Regions from separate parts of the Homo sapiens genome. Here regions 2, 3, 4, 5, 6 and 7 are each linked to region 1. Evidence: promoter capture Hi-C in 16 types of primary human blood cells and fetal thymus (Javierre and others, 2016). All regions are on one chromosome and are shown on one strand. The core of a region is centred on a gene start or on the middle of the fragment in contact, and the rest is flanking DNA. Distances in the headings are between cores, read along the strand shown. Region 1 holds the start of HLX (H2.0 like homeobox). Region 2 has its middle 4.9 kb from the start of DUSP10. Region 3 overlaps LOC105372932 (a long non-coding RNA gene). Region 4 overlaps LOC105372932 (a long non-coding RNA gene). Region 5 has its middle 34 kb from the start of DUSP10. Region 6 overlaps DUSP10 (dual specificity phosphatase 10). Region 7 overlaps LOC105372932 (a long non-coding RNA gene).

Region 1 (3,410 bases), core at 146-2,645:
TCCTGGGTGAAATTTTTACTAGAAATCAGATAAGTGCGAAAGTGTTTCCCAAAAATGCTTTAGCTGTCAGAAAATATAATTCTGTCTCTAGATACATTATTAAAGAGATCAAAGTCATGTTAGCAGATAATTACACCAACCACTTTTATAAATATTGATTCTAAGACGTGTTTTTAAAGAATCCCTGGAGTCATTTTTTGTTTGTTTTACATAGAACAGGTGAGTTTTAGACCTAATGTTTTGTAGTTTTCTTACAATTCGTTTTCTTCTCTCCCGTTTTACCGATTTGTCCTTAATTGTAAAAACACTCAAAGGCACCCCAAGCCAGCCCGGGGTCCGGGGAGTGGGTCAGTGGTCAGAGGCCTGCAGCCTCCCGCCCAAGACCTACCTCTCAGCGTGTTGCCTTCTTTGACTTTTGGGTCAAATTCTGCAGATAAAATGCGGTCAATTCCAAATTTGAGGTCTTTGCTGGAGGGGGCCGGGGCAGAGCCACTGTGGTGGGGGTTCGGAACCACTCGCGTCCCCGAGGCCGGGGGCTGCAGGGCGCCAGCCCGGGGCGGAGGCGGAGGCTGTTGCTGCTGCGGCTGTTGCTGCTGCTGTTGTTGTTGCGGGTGATGGTGGTGGTAGGCGGCTGAGAGCGGAGACAGCCGCTGCGGGAAGCCAGCCGGGACTTCGGAGGGCGCCACCACTGGGGTGGGTCGAAGCGGGGATCTGGCCGCCGCTTGGAAAGAGGCGTGCGGGTGAACCGAGCCCAAGTGCGCGGTGAGGGCGGCGGCCGAGGCCCCTGCCAGGCCCTCCGGGGCCGCCCCCAGATCCCCCACGCCGGCGTGCAGAATGTCTGCGATGCAGAAGGAGGGCTTTTTGACGGCGGCGGGGTCCAAGGGGAAGGAGCAGCCGCCTGGGCCGGCCGAGGAGCAGTAAGCGGCCGACCAGAGGCTGAAGTTGGAGGCGTAGAAGGGAGCCAGCCCGGCTGCGAACATCCTGCCGGGGTGAGCCGCGCGGCTGCCGCAGTCCAGCCGGACTGGGTGGGTGGGCGCGCGGGGAGGGGCGCGCGAGTCCCGGAGAAGGCGGCGGCAGCCGAGGACGATCCGCTTTCGCTTCTCCGCCCGCACTGAGGAAGAGAGGCCGGGAGCCCTAGCGCCACCGAGGGAGGAGGCGAGGGCCGGATCTCGGCCGGTCACCGCCTCGCTCCCTGGCCTCGCTTTAAAGGCGGCGCGGCGCCCGCACTCCTCGCGGGCTGGATGAGAGCGAGGGGCGCTGGGGCCGCAGGGCGGGCGGGGGAGCCAGGGAGACGGGAGCCGGACACCGCAAGAAAACCCAAATAGCTAAGCCCTAAGAGCTAAATTTAAAACAACAACAATAATAGTCCGTTAGTTAGGGGGGGGGAAAAGTAATAGAAAAAAAAAAAAACTCGTCTCTAAAAACTCCCAAAGTTTTGGCAGGAGCTTTCGAGTCAGGCCCGGGGTAGGACCTCGATCCGAGCGCTCATTGGTCATCCTCGTGACCAATGGGAGCGGGGAGTGGAGGGGAATTAGGAACAAGGGGGCCTGGCCGGACCCTAGCCACGCCCCGGCCACGCCAAAGTTTTTGCTGCGGCCGCGTGGGCTTAGTAGCGCACATCGCAGTGCTTCTTGCTACTCTGCGTAGGGGCCAGGCAGCCGCTCCGGAGGGCTCTGACTCTCTTCTAACTTCTGCAGCTCCGAACCGCCACGGGGCAAGGAGGGTTGATCACAGGAGCTTTCCTGAAGCGCTTGTCACCCGGGGCGAGTTGGGGGCGTGGGGAAGGGACGGTAATCTCACTCTTTAGGGCTCTGCAAAGCCCGCCTCCCGGTGGAGAGCGGAGCGCGCTTTGGCCCCTTTGCTTCCCTTCTCTTGACCTCATTCTGCTTTTATTCCAGGAGTCCGTGTCCTCGGCAAAGCCCCTCATCTTTCCTGGGCCCTTGCCCAAATGTTGCCGCCCTGAGTCCCGGCCCAACTCAGCACCGCGTCCGCCTCGTGCCTCCCAGGAGATCCTCCGGGAAGCGAGGAGGAGGGGCGGCCGCAAATTGGTTTTATTCTGAGCTGTCACACAGTGACAAATTGAACGAGTGACTTTTCAAACAAAATAAGACGGATGGCTCCAAACGTCTCTCTTAGACGCAGCCAAACCTTTCCCCGGAGCCTCAGAGGCTACAAAACAGGCTGCCTCCCGAAACCCGGGAGAGCGGCACGCGCTTCCATCCTTTGCAGGAGGTTGTAGGAAATGTTAGCCTCACCCCTCCACCACATCTCCGGATCACGTGGGGTTCGTTGTTTTGCAAGTGCCCACAAGAGCAGATTTCCGTGGGGTTCAATACTGCTTTCAATTCTGTGACAGCTTCCCCAGGAACCCCTTGGGCCTGGTTGCAGGAGGAGCTGCGTGGTGGTCAACGTCTTCCATTCGTGCCTTGGGTCTTTAGAACGCAGGGTAGTGGTGGTGGAGGTTTTGTGCAACATCGACATATCTATTTTAAGAATTTCTTCTCTTTAAATTATAGTCAGAATGAATTTCCCCACCCCTCTCCCAAACAAACCACAGGCCACCCAGATGAGCTGTTCTTGCACATTTTCAGGAAGAAAATAAAATAATACGAATAATGAAACCACGAAAACTTTTGTTTTCGATTGCCCTAATAAGCATCTCCTAACAGGGATTCTGTGACATTTTTATTTCCCTTCAGCACGAAGGCTCCTCACCAAATAAACCCAGAAAAGCAAGTGAACTTGCCATGCCTATCTCGAGTTCAGGGTTTGGGCTTATAAAATTAATTTCTGGTGTTTTCTCTAGCCCCTTGATGCAGATGCTATCCTTTTAAGCTTTTGACTTTCTCCTGGAAAATTATCAATCACTTCTGATCAGCCAGCACTAAGATCTCTCCCTCTCCCTCTCTCTCTCCCTCCTCCCGCCCTCCAGCTCTCCCGCTCTCGCTCTCCATCTCTCTTTTACTGAAAGGTTTTCTTCCCCTGCTCCACGCAACCAGGAGAGAGGTGCTATTTCCAGAGATAGATGGGTGTGTTTGGCTGAAGGTAGGGGTACCTGGGGCGAGAGACGTATTAAGACCAGTTTTTCTGTGTCAAGGTGAAGGCAAAGGAGCGACAAGTACAACATGGGCAATTGAGGCGCTGGCTGAGGGTTCTGGTGAGCCTTCGGTGGGAGTGTGCGTAGCGGAGGCCGTGAGCCCTCTGCTTTCTAGTGCCACTTCCAGTTTGATTGCGTTTCTAATTTGACTGCAAACATTTAGACCTCAGCCTAAGCCCAAACTCACGGTTGTGAAAGAGGTGCATTTACTCCTTACCCGAGGCAGCGCCGCGCGCCCTCACCCTCTCTCTTAAGAAATAAGACTCCCCTATCAGCTTTCACCCTTTCCAAGGTTTGCGACGCTCCGGGGTGG
Region 2 (3,468 bases), core at 497-2,996, 870 kb before region 1:
AGAAAAGTTCAGAAGAAAACAAAAGAAAAAAACAGCAAATTCTTATGAACAGGCAATTAAAAATATACTGCAGTCTGGAGACTGAGGGGGACATGATAGAAGTTTATAAAATCACAACAAGAGTGAATGAAATAACACAAAATGGTTAAAAGCAGATGCTCTGGTGCCAGATTGTCTGGGTTTAAGTGTTGACTCTGCTGCTTTCTAGTTTTGTGACCTTGGGCAAATTATTTACCCCATCTGTATTTCTGTTTTCTCATCTTTAAATTAAGCTAATAAAAAAGTACTTACTTATAGATCGATGTGGCTGTGAGGATTTAAGTGAGTTAATGCATGTAAATCACTTACAGCAGTGCTTAGCACAGAACAAAACACTTAGTAATATGTTACCTATGATTATTTTTTCCCAAATTCTAGATCTTTAAAATCAGTTCAGTTAATATTCAATTGTAAAGATAAAGTACGTTATGATGCACTTTGTTGTCTAAAGGAACTTCTTATATGTAGAAGTGGTACAGTCTGAACCTACTAGGAGATGCTGAGAACGTTAGATTAATTCTTTAGTGTTAGACCTGAAACAAGTCTTGAGGGGGTTTATGAATGCTTTGCGTGCATGTTTACCTTATAACTTTGCATCCTTCAGTAACACAGTTGGACCCAGCCTCCTGGGGTTGAGAAACTGGCGCTGACAGCATATCGTAATGATAAAACATGATTGCTCAGTTTAGTGAAGGGGAAAATGTTAACAGTCTTTGATGTAGCAACACATAATAATAACAGGCCATCCGCCACAGAGGAGGGCATTGTTGGAGACCCAAGGCCAGTGAATGTTTTGTGTGTGTTATTTTCATAAAGAAAATAAGTTTACATCCATGGTCCACACACTTGGGCTGAGGCAAAATCCTCTTCTGAGAAAGAGCAGCAGATGTTTGTGGGGTTACAAATAGGGGAGCAGTGAAGGGGAAGAAAAAACTGAAAGGGATCTGCTTGCCTAAATGAAGACAGGGAGCATATTAATTCCCCTAACCAGCCAGTCACCTCTGTGTGATCAGTAGAGGCCAGAGTGAACCTTGAAAAGAGGTCTGAGATCAATCATGCTTTGGCCATGCCATCCAGTGAAATTGCTTTACAGGAAAAAAAAAAAAAAAAAAGAGAGAGAAACAGGATTAAAAAACAAAACAGAGGATGGGCGTGGTGGCTCACGCCTGTAATCCCAGCACTTTGGGAGGCCGAGGTGGGTGGATCATGGGGTCAGGAGTTCAAGACTAGCCTGACCAACATGGTGAAACCCCGTCTCTACTAAAAATACAAAAGTTAGCTAGGCGTGATGGTGCATGCCTTCTAGTCCCAGCTACTCAGGAGGCTAAGGCAGAATTGCTTGATCTCAGGAGGCGTGGGTTGCAGTGAGCCAAGATCATGCCACTGCACTCCAGCCTGGGCGGCAGAGTAAGACTCCATCTCAAAAACAAAAAAACAAAAAACAAACAAACAAAAAAACCAGAACCACCACAACAAAAAAATCCCAACCAGGATCCTTTCTTTAACTGAAATTTTACTTTGGAAGCCCATGAATAAGACATATATCTATCCATAGCTATATCTGCATCTGTCAAGTGTGAAGGTGTGGAGGACAAGATTGTGGTCACAGAGGCTCCACCAGTTCACCCCTGCTCCCATTTCTATTGCCTCCCACTTGCACTGATGTCTTTTACCCTTTGTATATAAAGTTTTCAAGATCCAATGTGTATTTTAATCTTATGGCACATCTTAATTCAGACTAGCCACACTTCGAGTGGCCGACACATGTGTCAAATGACCACCACACTGGAAAATACAGATATAGAGCCTTAAATGGCTCAGAGCCTTTTCCTGAGTCACAAGCACACCTGCCCATGAATTTTGTAGGAAAGAACTGCAGGCCTCTTGTGTCCAAACTCATAGATAGTGGGACAAGCACATGGCCCTGCCTCTGTTTCCATCATTACAGTAGCCACTGTCTTAGTCCAGTTGTGCCGCTATAACAAAATACCTGAGACTGGGGAAGTTGTAAGGAACAGAAATTTATTGCTCACATGAGTTCTGGAGGCTGGGAAGTCCAAGATCAAGGTGCCATCTGCAGGTTCACTGCCTGGTGAGGGTCCAATCTCTGATTTCAAGATAGCACCTTGTTGCTGTGTCCCCACAGGGGAATGGAAGAAAACTAACTCACTCCCTGAAGCCCTTTTGTAATGGCCCTAATCCCTTCCATGAGGCCTCTGCCCTCATGACTTAACCACCTCCAAAAGGCCTCATCTCTTAATAGTGTCACACTGGTGATTAAGTTTCAACATGTATTTTGGGGGAACATTCAAACCATAGCAGCTCCTTCCTTCAGGGAACACTTCTTATCAGCCCTTCCCTAGGCCTGGAGAGTGTTGCTGGATGTTTTGCCAGGCTGGTCTCAATGACCTCAAACACTTACCATGCCACTTTCCTATTCCTCAGCTTATTCCCCACTCCTTCTGGTATAATATCATCTTTATCCTGGATGATTTTTAAGTTTTCTCCAAGCCATTCTCTGCCTTAATTCTAGTACCTCCAGAAATCTATCTTGACCTTGAGGATTATTTTGAAGGCCCCACCTTCTGCCATTACCCCACACACTTAACCATTTAAGTGCACAAAAAAGAAGTAATTTAATTAATACATTTGCTAAATACTATCCATATTATATCTTATATGTTGGCCTAAGTTATTGTCATCTTTTGACTTTAATACATAGTACTTCAGCTGAAACAGTCAATATTTTTCTTATGATGTTTGTGGGAACAAAGATATGCTCAATACAATCATGTTACAACATCCAGACTGAATGAAGATGCTTCACTCTTTCTTTGGGACTGAAACTAACATTAACGCTCTGCTGCTGGTTATTGATATACAGATCAGATTTGTAGCCATTGGCTGACTAGCATTACGAATTTAAGTCTCAGGGCATTATATTTCAGTGTAGTATTTTCACATTTATCGCTCAAAAACAGGAATAAAATCACTTCTTCTTGTCCAAAAGATGTTCTGAAGAGTAGTGAATGGAAAAAAATTCCATCTATAATCTGATTTTTTTCACCAGTCTTATGACTTGAATATAAACTTAGAGATGCCTAACTTAAAAAATAACTACAACTTTGCTTATATTCATAATCTGGTAATTATTCCACATTTCAGGCTTGATATATGATAAGGAATTTTGCCATCTTTCCCAATGTTTCAGCCTGGATGGCTTAGATTCTTAGTCAACTAAATTATAATAATCTACTACTTTGAAACTATAATAAAACAATCATCTCATTACAAGAGTTACATTTCTTCTTGAAATTACTTTTCCATTTTGGGCCTTGTGGGAAAAGCTGTTAAGAACTCTTCTGCAATTGTATAAATCTATACTTTGGGCTTAGATGTTGAGGCATTAGAAATGAATTCATCATTTAT
Region 3 (3,517 bases), core at 753-3,252, 570 kb before region 1:
TAGAGGCCGGGCACGGTGGCTCATGCTCGTAATCCAGCACTTTGGGAGGCCGAGGTGGGTGGATCATTTGAGGTCAGGTGTTAGAGACCAGCCTGGCCAACACGGTAAAACCTTGTCTCTACTAAAAATACAAAAATTAGCCGTGCGTGGTGGCATGCACCTGTAGTCCCAGCTACTCAGGAGGCTGAGGCAGGAGGAGAATTGCTTGAACCCGGGAGGCGGAGGTTGCAGCGAGCCGAGATCGCGCCACTGCATTTCACCCTGGGTGACAGAGCGATACTCCGTCAAAACAAACAAACAAACAAAAGCTGCTAGAAGGCTCAACACTTTGGGAGGTCGAGGTGCAGGGATCACCTGAGGTCTGGAGTTCGAGACCAGCCTGGCCAACATGGTGAAACCCATCTCTACCAAAAAATACGAAGATTAGCCAGGCATCGTGGCAAATGCCTGTAGCGCAGCTACTGGGGAGGCTGAGGCACGAGAATCACTTGAACCTGTGAGGCAGAGGTTGCAATGAGCCGAGATCGTGTCATTGCACTCCAGCCTGGGCAACAAACTGAAACCCTCTCCTCACACCCCAACCCCCAGAAAAAAGCTACTAGAAGAAAACATAGGAGAAACATTTCAGGAATTTGGTCTAGGCAATGATTTTATAGCTAAGTCTTACATAACATAGGCGACGAAAACAAAAATACACAAATAGGACTATATTAAACTAAGAAGCTTCTGCACATCAAAGGAAATAATCAAGAGTGAAGAGATAACCTGTAGAATGGGAGATAATATTTGTAAACTACTCATTCAATCAGAAACTAATATCCAGAGTATACAAGGAACCCAACTCACCAGAAAATAATAATCACAATAATCTCATTAAAAAGTGGGCAAATAATCTGAATAGGCATTTTTCAAAAGAACACATAAAAAATGACCAACAAGCATATTAAAAAATGCTCAATATCACTGACATCAGAGAAACGCATGTCATCTCACCTCAGAATGGCCATTACCAAAGACAAAAAGTAACAAATATTGGCAAAGATGTGGAGATGAGGGAACTCTTAAACCCTGCTAATGAGAATGTAAATTAGTACAGCCATTGTGAAAAATGGTATTCAGGTTTGTCAAAAAACTAAAAACTATCATATGATCCAGCAATCTCACTACTGGGTATCTATTCAAAGGAAAGGAAGTCAGTATATCAAAGGGATATCCACACTCCCATGTTTATTGCAGCATCATTCACAATAGCCAAGATATGGAATTAACCTATGTGTTCATCAGTGAATGAATGGATAAACAAAACGTAGTATTTGTACACAATGGAATACTATTCAGCCATAAGAAAGAATGAAATCCTGTCATTTGCAGCAACATGGATGGAACTGTGGTCATCATGTTAAGTGAACTAAACTAGTCATGGAAAGACAAATATTACATGTTCTCACTCATATTTGGGAGCAAAAATAATTGATCTCATGGAAGTAGACAGTATAATGATGGTTACTACAGATTGAGAAGGACTGGGGGCAATGGGAGATGAAGAGAGGCTGGCTAATAGGTACAAACATACAGTTAGATAGATAAGTTCCACTGTTTAATACTACAGTAGTGTGGTCATAGTTAATAATAATGTATTATATATTTTATAATAGAAGAGGTTTGAAATGTTTCCAACACAAAGAAATGATAAATGTTTGAGTTGATGGATATTCCAATTACCCCAATTTGATTATTATACATAAAATATAAAACTATTATTTACCAGTAAAAATAAGAGTTTAGCAACAACAGCAACAAATGGGCTAAAAATCTGAATAGATATTTCTCCAAAGAAAATGGTCAATAAACACGTGTAAAGATGCTCAACATCATTAGCCATCAAAGAAATACAAATCAAAATCCCAATTAGATGTGACTTCACACCCTCAAGGATGTCTATCATCAAAAAGACATAATGACAAGTGGTGCTAAGAATGTAAAAAATTCAAACACTCATATATTACTGGTCACAGTGTAAATTGGTATAGCCTCTTTGGCAATCAGTTTGGCAGTTCACCCAAGGCTAAACATAGAGTTACCATATGACCCAGGAATTCTACTCCTAGGTATATACCTGAGAGAAATGGAAACATATGTTCACACAAAAACTTTTACACAAAGGTTCATAGCAGCATTATTCATAAGATCCCAAAAGTGGAAACAACCCAAATGTCCATCAACTGGTGAAGGGAAAAATAAAATGTGGCATATCCGTATAATAGAATATTATTAAACAATTAGAAGCAATGAAATACTGATACAGGCTACAACATAGATGAAAGTTGAAAACATTATGCTAAGTGAAAAAAGCCAGTCACAAAAGTCTACATGATTCCATTTATATAACACGTCCAGAATAGGCAAACATATAGAGGTAGAAAGTAGATTACTGGTTGTCTAGGGCTTGGGGTTGCAAGAAAATGGCAGTAAATATTAAAGGCTACAGGATTTCTTTTTGGTGTGATGAAAATTTTCCAAAATGTACTGTGGAGAAGGTTTCACAAGGAATATCCTTGATGAAGTTGTAAAAAATTATTACATTTTATTAAATATTGACCCTCAAATACAAATTGTTAAAATAGATAATAAACTAAGAGCTATGTATAAAGCACTTCTGCAGCATAATGAAGTATGATGGTTATTTCAAAGAAAGGCAACTGTGTGATGGAGTTGAAAGAACGGACAAACTGCAGTTATTCAGAGTTGAGTACTTGGTAGACAAGTTTTTAGAAAATTGATGAAATGAGGCCATCACTTCAAAGAAATCATTGACAGTATTTGTTGCCAATAATAAAATCTGAGCTTTCAAGAGAAAATTAGAATTTTGGAAAACTTACATCTACCAATGTGTGCTTGATGACTTCCCAATGCTTAAAGGCTTTTTCTGATGAGATGAGTGAAGATATTCATGAATAGAATTTTTTAAAGTTGTATAATGAAATATGATAACATTTACAATATTTGCCTAAGGTAACTAATAATTTCCATATGACCAATGCATGATGTTACACAATCCAACATGGGTACAAGATTTGTTTAAAGTGCAAGATTTTAAAAAATGGATTTTAATGAAATAGAGTACAAAAATTTCATGCACATTGCCACACTGAAACTAACCTTTGAGACATTGTTACTTGTCAAGTTTTGGTGTAGTATCAAAGAAGATTATACACAACCATCTGAGGGGATATTAAAAGACTCCTCTTTTTCAACCACGTATCTGTCTGAAGCAAGCTTTATGTTAGCCAAAATATATAGCAACAGATTGAATGCAAAAGAGCATAGGAGAATTTATTTGTTTTTTATTAGACCAGGTATTAAAGAGATTTGCAAAAATTATGAAACATGCCATTCTCACATTTTTGGTATTAGAAGATGTAACTTTTTAATACAATGGCATTACTTAACATGTAATGTGTTTAGAATTGTTTTAAAATTAATAAGTACATAATTTAGAATTTTCTTAGTTTTAATT
Region 4 (3,065 bases), core at 302-2,801, 550 kb before region 1:
GTAAACTAAAATTAGAATCCTAAGCCCCCACCCCACACTAACTGAATGGACCCCATTTTGGCCAAAAAAACTATAGAGAAATCTTAAAAACTGAGTTCCCAGCCATGATGGGACAGGAGGTCAGACATGCCTTATTATACACCCTCTCTTTTGCAGTTTAGACACAATGACTGACCAGCATTAATGTTAAAATAGAGATCTAAGACTGACAAAACAAACTCTTTGTGGCAATGAAATGTCAAATTATAAACAGGACCCAAGGCCATGCCAGGCAAGAGTTAAGTCATGCATCCCCTACACTTAAAAAATAAACTATGTTCTAACTGCCACAAGATTTTTCTTTTTCTTTAGCAGCTAAACAAACACTGGTCTTGAGATAAGCAGTATCTCAAAAAAAACTTTCAGCTCTTCTACCACCAGCCACTGACTAACTGACCACTCTGTTCTACAAGTCATACATAACTACAGCTTTAATTAGACAAGAAACTAATTTGTCTGATAAGATTACCAACTGTGGACCTGTTCTAGCCAGTTTAGAGGTTATGCACTTAAGTGCCTTCATGTCCCTCTTCGCTTTTTGAAATATAAGCCCTAATTGTAATGCAATGAGATGTTGAGTCAGAATCACCTGCTTGAATATTTGTAGCTCCTCCTGTAACCTGTTGAATATGTATGTTAGTCAACGCACTCAGCATAAGGCTCCTACCCTAATCCCCGCTCCTTCAAAGTGCCTTTCTCCGTTATTTGCCAGGTGCTATGCTTCCCAGCTGTGGATAGTGACCTTGAAGGCTGTAACTTTCACAAGAAATGAAGTCTCCTCTCCTTTCTAAATTTATAAATTTTGTGATTTTTCAGTTAACAGTGTTTAACAGCAAGCTTGATTAAGCAGAATAAAAAATCAGTGAACTAGAAGACATTTGAAATTACCCAGTAAGAAGAGCAAAAAGAAAAGAGAATAATGGAAAAGACTGAAGAAAGTCTAAGGGCCTTATGGGAACACTATCAAAACACACATACACACACACTATAAATGTATATACTCTCTCTATATATATATTAAACATAGGGAAATAAATAAAAGCAGTACAAACCTGGAAGCAAAACTTCTAAATGCTTAGGTTAACTTTGGCTAGAATGAAATGGAGAGGAACCTTTTCTCTGTCTCCTTTGAAAATTATTCTTATGAATGGTTTCCCTGAGAGAGATATATATATATATATCTCATATATATTTATATATTACGAATGTATAATATATATATTCGTAATCAGAGTTTCATAAAAAAGAAGAAAGGGACAGAAAGCTTACTTAAGTAAATAATGGCCAAACATGTCCCAAATATGTGCAGGAGATAGACAAACAGGTTCAAGAAGTCCAATGGAACCCAAATAGGATGAATCCAAAGAAGTCAGCACTGAGACATATTATAACCAAATTGTCAAAAGCCAAAAATAAACAAATAATTTTGAAAGCAGCAAGAGAAGAGTGACTCATCACATACAATTGAGCAATATATGACTATCAGCAGATTTCTTAGCAGGAACTTTGCAGGCCAGAACAAAGTGGGATGATATATTCAAAGTACTAAAATGACAACTAAACGCCAATTAAGAATGTCATATTCAGCAAAATTACTTGTCAAAAATGAAAGAGAGATAATGACTTTTTCAAAGAAATAAAAGGCAAGAAAATTTGTCACCACTTGGCCTCACTTATAAGAAATGCTAAAGGAAGTCCTTCAAGTTGGAACAAAAAATATGCTAAACATTAAGACAAAGCATATGAAAGTATGAAGCTTGCTGATAAAAGTAAATATATAGACAAATACAAAATGCTATAATACTATAACAGTTGTGTGTAAATCACTTTTAGTTTTGGTATAGAAGTCAAAAGACAAAAGTATAAAAAATAACTATAATTATAAAAATATGCTAATTGATACAATAAAAATGCAATTTGGTATATCAATAACAAAGTATGGAGAGGAGGAGTAATACGCAATTGTGTGTGCAACTGAACTCATGTTGTCATCAGCTTAAGGCACATTGTTATAATTATAAGCTATTTTATGTAAGTCCCATGATAACCACAAAAACAAACCTATGGAAGGTATACAAAGGAAAATGAGAAACGAACCAAAGTGTATCACTACAAAAATCAATGAAACACAAATAAAGATAATGAAAAAAAGTAGGAACAAAAGAACTATAGGACAGATAGAAAATAATTTTTAAATGGCAATAGTAAATCTGTTCCTGTCAATAATGACATTAAATGTAAATGAATTGAACTCTCTAAACAAAAAACATAGAATGGCTAAATAGATAAAATTTTTAAAAACATAGTCACATACTCTCTGCAAGAGACTCAGTTTAGATTAAAAATAGTGAAAAAATAAAAAGAAAATATATCTCATAAAAATGGTAAGCAAAATCGAGCAATGGTGGCCATAATTTTTTAGGCAAAATGGATTTTGAGTCAAAAAGTGTCACAAGAGAAAACATGGATATAATACAATGACAAAAGAGTCAGTTCACCAGGAAACATAACAATTATAAGTATATATGTACCAAACATCAGAACACCTAAATGAATAAAGCGCACATTGACAGAACTGAGAGAGAAATAGACAGCAACACAATAATAGTAGAGAAATTTAATATTCTACTTTCAATAATGGAGAGAACATCCAGACAGAAGATTAATAGGGAAACAGAGAACTTGAACAGCACTATAACCCAACTGGACCTAATAGACATATACTGAACATTTCACTCAACAGCAACAGAAGAAACATTCTTCTGAATTGCAAATGAAATAGCCTCCAGGATAAATCACATATAAAGTCGCAAAAGCCTTAACAAATTTAAAAAGATTAAAATAAGTATTTTTTTGACTGTGATAGAATGAAACTAGAAATCAATAGCAGAAAGAGATCTGAAAAATTCAAAAATATGTAAAAAATAACATGCATAAATATGCAGTGGATCAAAGAAAAAAATCAAAAGGGAAATTAGAAAATGTCTAGAGACAAATGAAAATAAAACACAACATATCAAACCATA
Region 5 (3,254 bases), core at 183-2,682, 900 kb before region 1:
TCACAATGAGATCACATCTCTACTGTACTGAAAATCTTTTCAGGCACCAGAGAGAAAGGCCTGAGTGTGATTCTCCTTCCCTGGTTCTGAGTGAGAAGGTCATTAGCTCACTAGGTACTGGCAATTTCAAGAATTGCCAAAATGACAGTGATGTGATAAGAACAACTATCCTGTTGGGTCTTTGTGTAGTATTTTTCCTTTGAAAACAGCTTTATGCTAATTATCCCATATGAAACACAAAAAAAAAGGAAGTGTGAGGTCAATGTGGCTAAGATTTATGTCCGTTTTGCAGACGTGGATCTGAGATATCTCGTGATTTGCTGGTGGTTGCACAGGTAGTGGAAGAGCTGGGGTGGAAGGGTTTCTTCCTGAGCAGGTGGCTGTTCCTCCCAGAAGTCCTGCCTACCTGCCTTTCTCTTGCTGACAGCCATATCACCCACTTTGTTTAAGGGTCAAAACTGTCTCAGGTTGTTCTCACTGCTACACACCCACTAGCGCCATGACAAATTACAGATGCCATGGCAACATCAGGAAGTTACCCTGTATGATCTAAAATGGGGAGGAACCCTCAGTTCTGGGAATTGTCCACCTCTTTCCTGGAAGACTTGTGAATAATCCATTCCTTGTTTAGCCTATAATCAGGAAACAACCATAAAAACGGGCAACCAGAAGCCCTCAGGGCTACTCTGCCTATGGAGTAGCCATTGTTTATTCCTTTACTTTCTTAACAAACTTGCTTTCACTTAAGAAAAAAAAAAAAACTTTCTCCAGTAAAAATTTATGTTCACACCTAAAATTTGTAAACCAATGTGCATAGCATCTTTATTCATGATGGTTAAACACTGGAAACAATCCAGATGTCCATCAATAGACGAGTGGATAAGCAAAATGTATAATCCGTGCAATGGAATATTATCGGGCTGTCAAAAGGTATGAAGAGCTGACACATGCTGCAACATGGCAAAACCCTGAAAACATTATTTTAAGTGAAAGAAGCCAGTCACAAAAGCCCACATTATGTATTATTCCGTTTAGACGAAAAGCCAGATTAGGCAAATGTATATAGATGCAAAGTAGATTAGTGGTTGCCCAGCGTGGGGAGTTGATGAGGGTATTGGAAACTGATGGCTAATGGGTACGGATTTCTTTTAGGGGTGATAATAATGTTTTAAAATTTTTGATGGTGGCACAACTCTGTGAATATACAAAATCTCACTGGGTTGTATAATATAAAAGAGTGAATCATATATGTAAACTATATCTCAAGAAAGCTGTTATTTTTTTTTAAAGACTGACTCTCGGCTGTGGCTTTCATAATCTTCTTTGGCCATGGCTTTCCCCAGGGCTCCAAAGCTAGGCAGTGCCCAAAACTGTCTCCTCTAACTTTGTTTTACAGGGAGACATTCCTCCAACTCTGCCTGCTCAAATTTGTGGGGTGAAATCTGGTGCCTCTATATTTCCAAATACAAAGCGCTAGAGGTTAAGTTGTGTGCTTCTCAAATGTCAGTGTACATTCTGATCCCCTGGAGATCTTGCTAAAATGCAGATTCTTAACCTTTGGGTCTGGGACACAGACTGAGATTCTGCATTCTAAGAAGCTCCCAAGCAATGTCAGTGTAGCTGCCGTCCTCATTTTGGGAAGCCAAGGTGTCGACCACAGACCCAGAAGATGCAGCCTTTGACTCCTCAATGCCACCAATACAATTCAATCAAATATCAAGATTTTCAAAACATAGTCAATCGAATGTCTTTTTCCCACTCTCTATCCAATTATTAGGTGCATTTATAATGGAAGATTGTTAAACACGATTACCAACTTGGTGAAATCCTTTGGTACACAGTAATGTTTATGGAAAGCACCTAACAACTTGGTGGAGTATTTTTTCTTTGAACTGACTGAATTGGCCGTTTTTGGTTTGCATCATAGGGAAAACCCTGAGTTGTGCTAAGTCTGAGCTTCCTTAATCATTAACTATACATTTTAAAAGCACAAGATTAATTTCTGTGTTCCAAACACCAAACATGTTGTCATTTTGAGGAGTGGGCAGGTTCAGAGGACCTCCTTAGAAGGAGATAAAAGCCAAGAGATGATGAAGTTTTTATTTTTATTTCGTTTTATTTTATTTTATTTTATTTTATTTTATTTTATTTTATGGTAGAGATGGGGGTCTCACTATGTTGCCCAGGCTGGTCTTGAACTCCTGACCTCAAGCAATCCTCCCACCTTGGCCTCCCAAAGTTCTGAGATTACAGGTGTGAGCCACCACGCCCAGCCTGGATGGTGAACTTAACTTAGTTTTATAGCATCAGTGGATTGTGATAAGAGTTATGTACACAACTTAATTTTTGTTTAATAAGCATGTGGTGTGTATCTGTAACATAAAGAACACTATGCCTGTATCTCAGGAAGAGATATGTAAAGATGAATAAGATGCTGTCTGTGCCCAAAGAGAGGCCTTTATTCCTAGTCAGGGAGAGAAACAAGCTCACCAAGAAAAGCAAGAAATAAAAGGGAGAAGGAGAGAGCTTTTTGCTTGTTCTTGCTGTTTGATTGGCTTAAATTTTATCTCCATAGATTTTACTTTCTCCAGCTGCAAAGCTGAAGGCAAAGCTGAAGAATCCTGGACACTCTCCTTTGTTCAAATAAAACTTCTATTTACACAGGATTTGCTAAAGGAGTACAAGGAAATGGCAGAGATAGCATTAAGCTCACACAGCAGTTCCGGAAAGCGCCCCTTCATTGTTCTCAGGCTCGTACCTGCAGTAACAGGGCCTATAGGCTTTGAACACAAGACAACTGAGTTCGGAACCTCAGAAGAATTCTGGATATGGTACAAAAAAATTCAGGTTCAAATTCCTGTTGTGCTCAAGTTTAGATATACGATGATCATTGCTTTTTAAACCTGCTGGGGCTTATTTTTTCATCTGCGATATAAAGATGATTATACTAATTTCTTCAAAGGATGACATGAGCAGGAAATGAGCTAATGTATGGAGACAGTTTCATGAACTGTCCAGCACTCTACATATATAAGAGGTAATGACTGTTTTTCCTAGCCCATGTACTTCAGGTCTCGGCTGTCCCTCTCCTGCCCTCAGGTCTGGCAAACCCCACCTATCAACTAGCCATGGCTGCTGTGCTGTTTCAGGGCCCTGCTTGATGATCCAAGCGGATGTGGGGTCTTCCTAAAGACAATGCATTGTGATTGTGACCAGAAGGAAACTTAAGTCCAAGTCCTCAGTGAATTATCTGG
Region 6 (3,343 bases), core at 419-2,918, 830 kb before region 1:
AAATGTCTTTTTTTTCAAGGCTTCTGAAAATCGTAGACATAAAGAACTAAATATAATGAGGTTTTCAAGGGAGACCACACTAACCACCAGCCCCAACCCCCACTCTGCATGCCACTTCCTCCGGCAGTGATGGAGTGTAGACTAGGCTAACAGCACTGAGTACACTTTTAGCAGAGCAGAGCTACAGTGGGCTGTCCTCATGGCTCCTGCTTTGTCCTCCCTCTCTGGTGATGCCCTTGCATGGGGTTGCCTCTGCAGGATGGTCTCCTTTTCCTACTGCTCTGAAGCAACTGTACCAGCATCAAAAGTTCATCTCTAGCAACACTGACATTGACCCCTGTAGTCTCTGGTCATCTTCCTGCATCTGACTACCTCCAGTGCTAGTTAGCTTTGCTGCTCCATTTGACAGTCATTCAAATAGCTGCAGGGTTTGAATGCCTTCTTAAAATACCAGGATGGCTATTGTACACACAAAATCATTGAATCATTACGACAGACCTAAGTAGTAGTATCCTATTTTATAGTTATGGAAAGATAGCCCAGAATACTTCAATAACTTTCAAAAAGTCACACACTTGGCATGTGGCAGACCCACTATTCTAAATCCAAGGCAAAGCTCTTTTTTTTTTTTTTTTTTTTTTTGCTGCTTTATATATCATCCACTGTCTTTTCTAGAGTTGGCTTTTAAGATATATCTGTAGATAACTGTGTCTCCTTCACACAGGAAAAACCCATGAATGGAGGGACTAACTTATTTTTAGATATATCTTCCTAAAAGACTTAATAATATAGCAAGCCAAATAATGTGGATGGGTACTCAATGGGATTCAAGATCCCATTATGTTATATGAGTATATCTGAAGTTTTATGTATATGTGTGTATTTTAAGCTTGTGATACTTCCTTGTTTATGTCTTTTCAAACATAAGGCATCTCACATGTAAGCCAGACCACACTGGTTTGAGGGAAGCAGTCAAATGACGTGATCATAAGAAGACTTCTCTCTGACTCATAGTCAGCCTCCTAAATCTCTTTCTTCCCCTGAGTAAGATAAATACTTCTTTATCTCTTGTTTCATACCTTATACCTAGTGAGACAGCACTCCCATTCAACTCTCTCTGCCTCTGTTTGATAGGGCCTCCCTTTACTCTTCTTGGGAAAGAAATACAAGTTCCCTGGGGGCAAGATCCTAAGACAATTTAAGTAATACTTCCTTGGGTATTTTACAGTAGGAATGATTTTCATCTTGAACTTGAAAATACCCTACTGTAAAATACCCAATTCCTACTGTAAAATACCCAATCACATCTATGGAGTATAAAGAACATTTCATAGAAAACAAGAAGTAGAAATAATCTTTGTGGATCGAGCTGGTACCCACCACCACCCCACATGTTTCTCCTGTTAAGATAGGTGATATTCTGCCCTGAAACTTATGAAGTGACTCTGACCCTGTCTTTGAAGAAGATTTCAGCCTTGGCAGCCTGACATCAGCTCCAGTTCATCCAGGCTTTGTTCTTCCACAGATTCTTGTGCTTATAGAATCTTGAGTGGCTCTGATGTTCTGTTTCCATGGAGTATATCATAGCATCCATCTGTTCCTGGTATAAACAAAATAGTATGCAACTTACAGCAATGTCTCTCCCACTTATAATAAAACACCTAACTCTCATGTAGCATTTTATCCATATTGAGAGCTCTGTGAGATAGAAATTATTATATTACAAGTCACAGATATGTAAACTGAGATGCAGAGACATCAATAACTTGCTCAAGGTTACAAGGTAAGTGATAGGAGTCAGGAGTTTTAACTCAAGCAATCTGGCTCCAGTCTATGATCTTAACCACTATCATCAAGGTACTGTTTTACTTTAAAAGACTGGTTACTCAGTAAGAAAAACTAGGCAACAGAGAGGGGTGATCAATATGCTTATAGCAAACTGTAGAAGAGTCCAATTTTAGCCTACACCCCTCCCCCTGGTCTTTGGACATTACTTCTGTTTGCTGACCTTCAGTGAGAGTGTTCCTTAAATTTCTGGAAACAGCTCACTTTCTAGCTTAGCATAAGACCAAAAAGGGCTGTCCACCTTTAGAGTATAAAAATCTCTTGCTTATAGATTCTGCATTTGGATGTGGTTTCTTTAACTCACAACCCAGCGCATTGCTTCTGAATCACATTACAGAGGACTCTTCTGTTTCTAGGACTGCAGTCGCCAAAACAGCAACAGGAGCTGAAATGCATCTATAAAGAGAAGTTTCCCACTAAAACTAGAATCCATTGCTTCAGTAGGACTGTCACTGAACTGACCGTGTGTTAGAAGAAACTGGCAGGCAGTATTTCCACATATAGTTCTTTAGGGGTGCTAGGTATTCTTTGTTGCTGCCATTTAGAATCAATGTACTGACCATACTCATTTTGGCAGAGAACCTACTTTTGACATAAGCTTTGAAAATGTTTGCTGCCCCCCCACCCCGCCTTGCCTCACCCTACCCCAGCATTGTTGCTCATGGCTACAATATGTTCGCACTAATAACTGCAGGCTCTTGTGCACATAAGGAAGTTAGCCACCTTGGTAGAAATTAGAGGAAAGGAAGAAGGAGGGAAGAACAGTTTTATTTTCAAAATCCAATTCTGTGGAAAAACCAGAAATGCAAAGACAGTGTTTGTTAGGAAAGCTAGGACCAACAAAGTGAAATCAGATATATTTGTTTAGGAAAAATAGGGAGCTGTTGCTTTCTTTATGTTAAAAGTATGTTTTGCAAACTTTAAAACTGCTCGGATACCTTGGTTCCTAATTCTTTTTTGTTAAATAAAATTTTAAAAGTAAAAACTCAGGAACATTAGTTTACTTATATAGAGTCTTTATATTAAGCAGATTTTTTTTTTTTTAGATCTTTAAAATGGTAGTTTCCCAAAGTGATGAAAAGAAAAAGCACTTACAATGTGCTGGACATTGTTTTAAGGTACTTTATTAACCACTTTAATCATTACAACAGTACAGTGAGGTAGGTACTATTGTTATCCCTGTTTTGTATACAGGGAAACTGAGGAACAGACAGGTGAGAAACCTGCCCAGGGTCTCATAGCTAGTGTTTGGCTGTGCTGGGGATTCAAACCCAAGAAGTCCAGCCTCAATACTCCTTCTCTGAATCACTGCACTGCACTTAGGGCTCTCATGGACTATGCGTGTGCATAGATCTGTTGGAATTTAGAACAAAGGTGATGATATTGGGGGTAATAAGACATTATTTATCGAATACCTGGTCGTGTATCAAAACCTTTACATAGGCTTCCTGAACTATGACCCTGATGGGTAGATGATATTACATCCACTTAATAGATT
Region 7 (3,031 bases), core at 12-2,511, 530 kb before region 1:
GATTAGAGGAAGAGGCCTGTGGCGTATCCTAAAGGGGCTGGAGCAGTCAATCCCCAATAAATCCATAAAGCTAACCCCCAGAACTTCCTTCCACATGGATACACACACACACACACACACACACACACACACACACACGCCTGGAAGTGGAATCAAGATAAGTTACCAGTAGACAACCAAATCGTAGATGAGGGGAAGGTTGTGCTATAAAAGCTTCCCACCTCATAAATGAAAATTAATGATAGAATTAGGATGACCCCATTTGCAATTCCCCAAATTAGTAAGGGATCTAGTCATCAAACAAAATTGGCTGTTAACGTCACAAAAAGAGAGATACCCAGATATCGAATGTCTCCCATTGTAAAAACATACCACTGCCTACAGTCCTGACACATGGATAGAAACTGAGTCAAAGCAGGATCTGTCTGATCTGATCCAGTTTGCAGCCAATACTGAGAAGAGAGGAGCAGGCTGAACTGAACTTTGTGTTGGCAATCAGCAAAATCAAGACTGTGGAGAAATATGCAGGTCAAATGCCCTTTTTTCTTTAACAGATAAATTATAAGGAAAAGAAAGGGATAAAAGGAGAAGACTTAAAAGATGTATCAGTTTTCTTTAAGTGGATCAGACTAACTGAAGCTCCCAGGGATGTTCACCGAAGTAATAAAAGTATAAAGAAATTCACAAAAGTGAAGAAGAAAATACAAGTTTGTGATTAAAATTGGACAGAGAGGATTATGGTTGGAATGGCTTCTAAGGTGTTAACAAATTTTCTCTCTTGACCTGAGTGATGGTAACAAGAATTTCTGCCTTGTAGTAACTCATAAAACCCTGCATTTGTTTTGTGTGGCAATTCCTAAAGGATTTAGAACTGGAAATACTATTTGACTCACCAATCCCATTACTGGGTATATACCCAAAAGAATATAAATCATTCTATTATAAAGATACATGCACACACATGTTCATTGCAGCACTATTCACAATAGCAACGACATGGAATCAGTCCAAATGCCCATCAATGATAGACTGGATAAAGAAAATGTGGTACATAGACACTATGGAATACTATGCAGCCATAAAAAGGAACAAGATCATGTCCTTTGCAGGGCCATGGATGAAGCTGGGAGCCTTTCAGCTTGCTTTGTGTCTTTCTGTACATATTTTAATTTACAATGCAAAAACAGAAAAAAAGCAATGTAATTTACTTGGACAGGCCCCAGTTTATTCTAAAAAATAAAATAGGTAGCTAGAGAGAGAGGCTGTCCTTCTTGCAAAAGTGAAATATTCAAAGTTTGCTTCATATTTCCTAAATATCCATAAGAATTGTTTCAACTGATAATTAATATAGGAAATGAATTTACAAATGTGATCTATAGTTTTATCTCATCTCTACCTGAGTTAAGTGACATAGTACCATGTCTAAAATTTATGTAATCAATGTACAGTCTGTATCTTCAAGGTTACCTCTAATTGTGATCAAATCTGTACATTCTGAATGGCTGGCTGGGACAAATAATCAACATCTGAATGAACAAAACCCAACAGTTACGTAACTACAGGGTTGAGAAAGGAGAATGACCATGGTTGATGGCAAGGTCAAGAACTTTGGGTGGAAAATGTCTCCCGTATCATATCAGAAGAAAGTCCCCAGAGCAAGGAATAAAAGGATAGTGAGTGTTTAGGAGCTTTCCTGGGTGCCCAGAATATGTTTGGTTTATTACTGTGATGTTTCCGCAGCTGCCTGCTTGTAGAAAGAGCTGCAGGAAATCTGTCATCTTTCTTCAAAACAAGCAAGGGTCACTAAAGCCCCGTTATTGGGCCAAAGCAGGAAATACAACAAAGCCCAACATAATATGGTTCTATTGAAAGGAACCTGACTTAGGAAAGAGTGGCGGATTTTTCTTAGGATTGTTAGTCTAAGCTGTTCCCAGACCGGTCATGATTAAAAGACATGCTTATTTAATGATCAACAGCTTATGACAAATCACAAAGGCTATCAATAGGAGAAGGAAGCCTGTGCATCCAGATGTAATCCTTTTCTGATGTGCCAGGAAATATTAACCATTGATGACAAAGTAAAATAAAACAAAGGTGATTGTTGCCATGCCATTTTTGGATGCATGCCAGGACTATGTAACTGCCCATGGAGATGGGAAGGTCAGGCAGAGTCACCCATAGGTACAATTATATAGGTTCTGGTGTTGGCTGCTCCATCAAGATACCCTGTGACTTCAGGTAACACATTAAACTGAAGAGAGAGAGAAATCTCTTTTCTTGTAAGAAACGAAAAAAAAAAAAAAGCTTAGTAATCTCTCCATGATATTTATATTAGCAAGGTCGTTAGTCAAAATAGCAGGTCACCTTTCAAAGGAAGTCACATCATGTATATTCTAGGAGGTATATGGGACCTCTAGTTACAGTGCTTTTAAAGAAAATATGTGCATTGTCCGTGTGCCAAGGATAAAATTCTACTAGATAGTAACTGACAATATACGGTGAAGTCTCAACTTCTATTTAAAAATGGATACTTAGAGTTACGTAATGGTTTTCTCTGGAGAAGTTAACAATGATTTATTTATTCATTCCTCCTATGACCCAAATAAACATTTTGTAAGACCGATAGCTGTCATGTAACTCTCTATCCTAGTGTGCGCTGGATCCTCCCATGAGGGGGATCCTCCCTGAGGAGGATGTAAATACTAACATCCCCCCATGAGGAGGCCTGGACCCACCCAAGCCTTGAGCTTCTGAAAACCAGGGCTTTTGATATATTGAGAAATTCCTTGTCGCTAGAGAGTGAGAAATGAAGATTGATCTGCTGTCCTAAGCCCCAAATCTATTGTGCTAGGGGTAATAGAGGCCTTGATTCTTTATGAGCATTAAGCCACAGCCCCCCAAGCCCGTCTTCTTTCCACCATGTATGCCCATTTTGCCTCACTATTTGGCCTTTTTCTTTGTCCATAGCTCAGTCCCCTCTATCCAGGCCAGTCAGCTAGATCTTTCCTTCTTTCCTTCCTTCTCGCCCTCA

Evidence for each region. Contacts are between HindIII fragments. The CHiCAGO score rates a contact against its expected background, and 5 or more counts as called.
Region 2: a fragment that was not itself captured here is called in contact with the fragment with the promoter of HLX in region 1 in 1 of 17 cell types (neutrophils); the score reaches 9.2 in neutrophils.
Region 3: a fragment that was not itself captured here is called in contact with the fragment with the promoter of HLX in region 1 in 3 of 17 cell types (total B cells, neutrophils and naive B cells); the score reaches 5.4 in total B cells.
Region 4: a fragment that was not itself captured here is called in contact with the fragment with the promoter of HLX in region 1 in 10 of 17 cell types (M2 macrophages, total B cells, endothelial precursors and 7 more); the score reaches 16.7 in M2 macrophages.
Region 5: a contact is called between a fragment that was not itself captured here and the fragment with the promoter of HLX in region 1, in 1 of 17 cell types (total B cells). The highest score is 6.1, in total B cells.
Region 6: a contact is called between a fragment that was not itself captured here and the fragment with the promoter of HLX in region 1, in 4 of 17 cell types (monocytes, M1 macrophages, M0 macrophages and 1 more). The highest score is 12.8, in monocytes.
Region 7: a contact is called between a fragment that was not itself captured here and the fragment with the promoter of HLX in region 1, in 1 of 17 cell types (endothelial precursors). The highest score is 6.6, in endothelial precursors.

What each region holds. Positions count from the first base shown.
Region 1 is chr1:220,877,428-220,880,837 of GRCh38, reverse strand. HLX (H2.0 like homeobox) reads right to left here and starts at 1,395. Exons shown (of 4, transcript NM_021958.4): 1 at 389-1,395. The coding sequence starts at 980. HLX-AS1 (HLX antisense RNA 1) reads left to right here and starts at 698. Exons shown (of 3, transcript NR_046901.1): 1 at 698-989. RefSeq lists an enhancer at 62-670 and a silencer at 1,789-1,838. The HindIII fragment of the contact is 7,579 bases long and covers 1-2,837 here.
Region 2 is chr1:221,745,252-221,748,719 of GRCh38, reverse strand. No RefSeq gene overlaps it. Among named protein-coding and RNA genes, the nearest start is that of DUSP10, 4.9 kb to the right of the region's middle. The HindIII fragment of the contact is 4,022 bases long and covers 1-3,468 here.
Region 3 is chr1:221,450,457-221,453,973 of GRCh38, reverse strand. All of the region lies in intron 3 of LOC105372932 (a long non-coding RNA gene), which reads right to left. Among named protein-coding and RNA genes, the nearest start is that of LINC02817, 120 kb to the right of the region's middle. The HindIII fragment of the contact is 2,553 bases long and covers 726-3,278 here.
Region 4 is chr1:221,427,941-221,431,005 of GRCh38, reverse strand. All of the region lies in intron 3 of LOC105372932 (a long non-coding RNA gene), which reads right to left. Among named protein-coding and RNA genes, the nearest start is that of LINC02817, 93 kb to the right of the region's middle. The HindIII fragment of the contact is 492 bases long and covers 1,306-1,797 here.
Region 5 is chr1:221,774,001-221,777,254 of GRCh38, reverse strand. No RefSeq gene overlaps it. Among named protein-coding and RNA genes, the nearest start is that of DUSP10, 34 kb to the right of the region's middle. The HindIII fragment of the contact is 3,911 bases long and covers 1-3,254 here.
Region 6 is chr1:221,710,077-221,713,419 of GRCh38, reverse strand. All of the region lies in intron 2 of DUSP10 (dual specificity phosphatase 10), which reads left to right. Among named protein-coding and RNA genes, the nearest start is that of DUSP10, 30 kb to the left of the region's middle. RefSeq lists an enhancer at 889-1,068. The HindIII fragment of the contact is 1,554 bases long and covers 892-2,445 here.
Region 7 is chr1:221,410,406-221,413,436 of GRCh38, reverse strand. The region is part of intron 3 of LOC105372932 (a long non-coding RNA gene); the gene reads right to left. Among named protein-coding and RNA genes, the nearest start is that of LINC02817, 76 kb to the right of the region's middle. The HindIII fragment of the contact is 2,091 bases long and covers 216-2,306 here.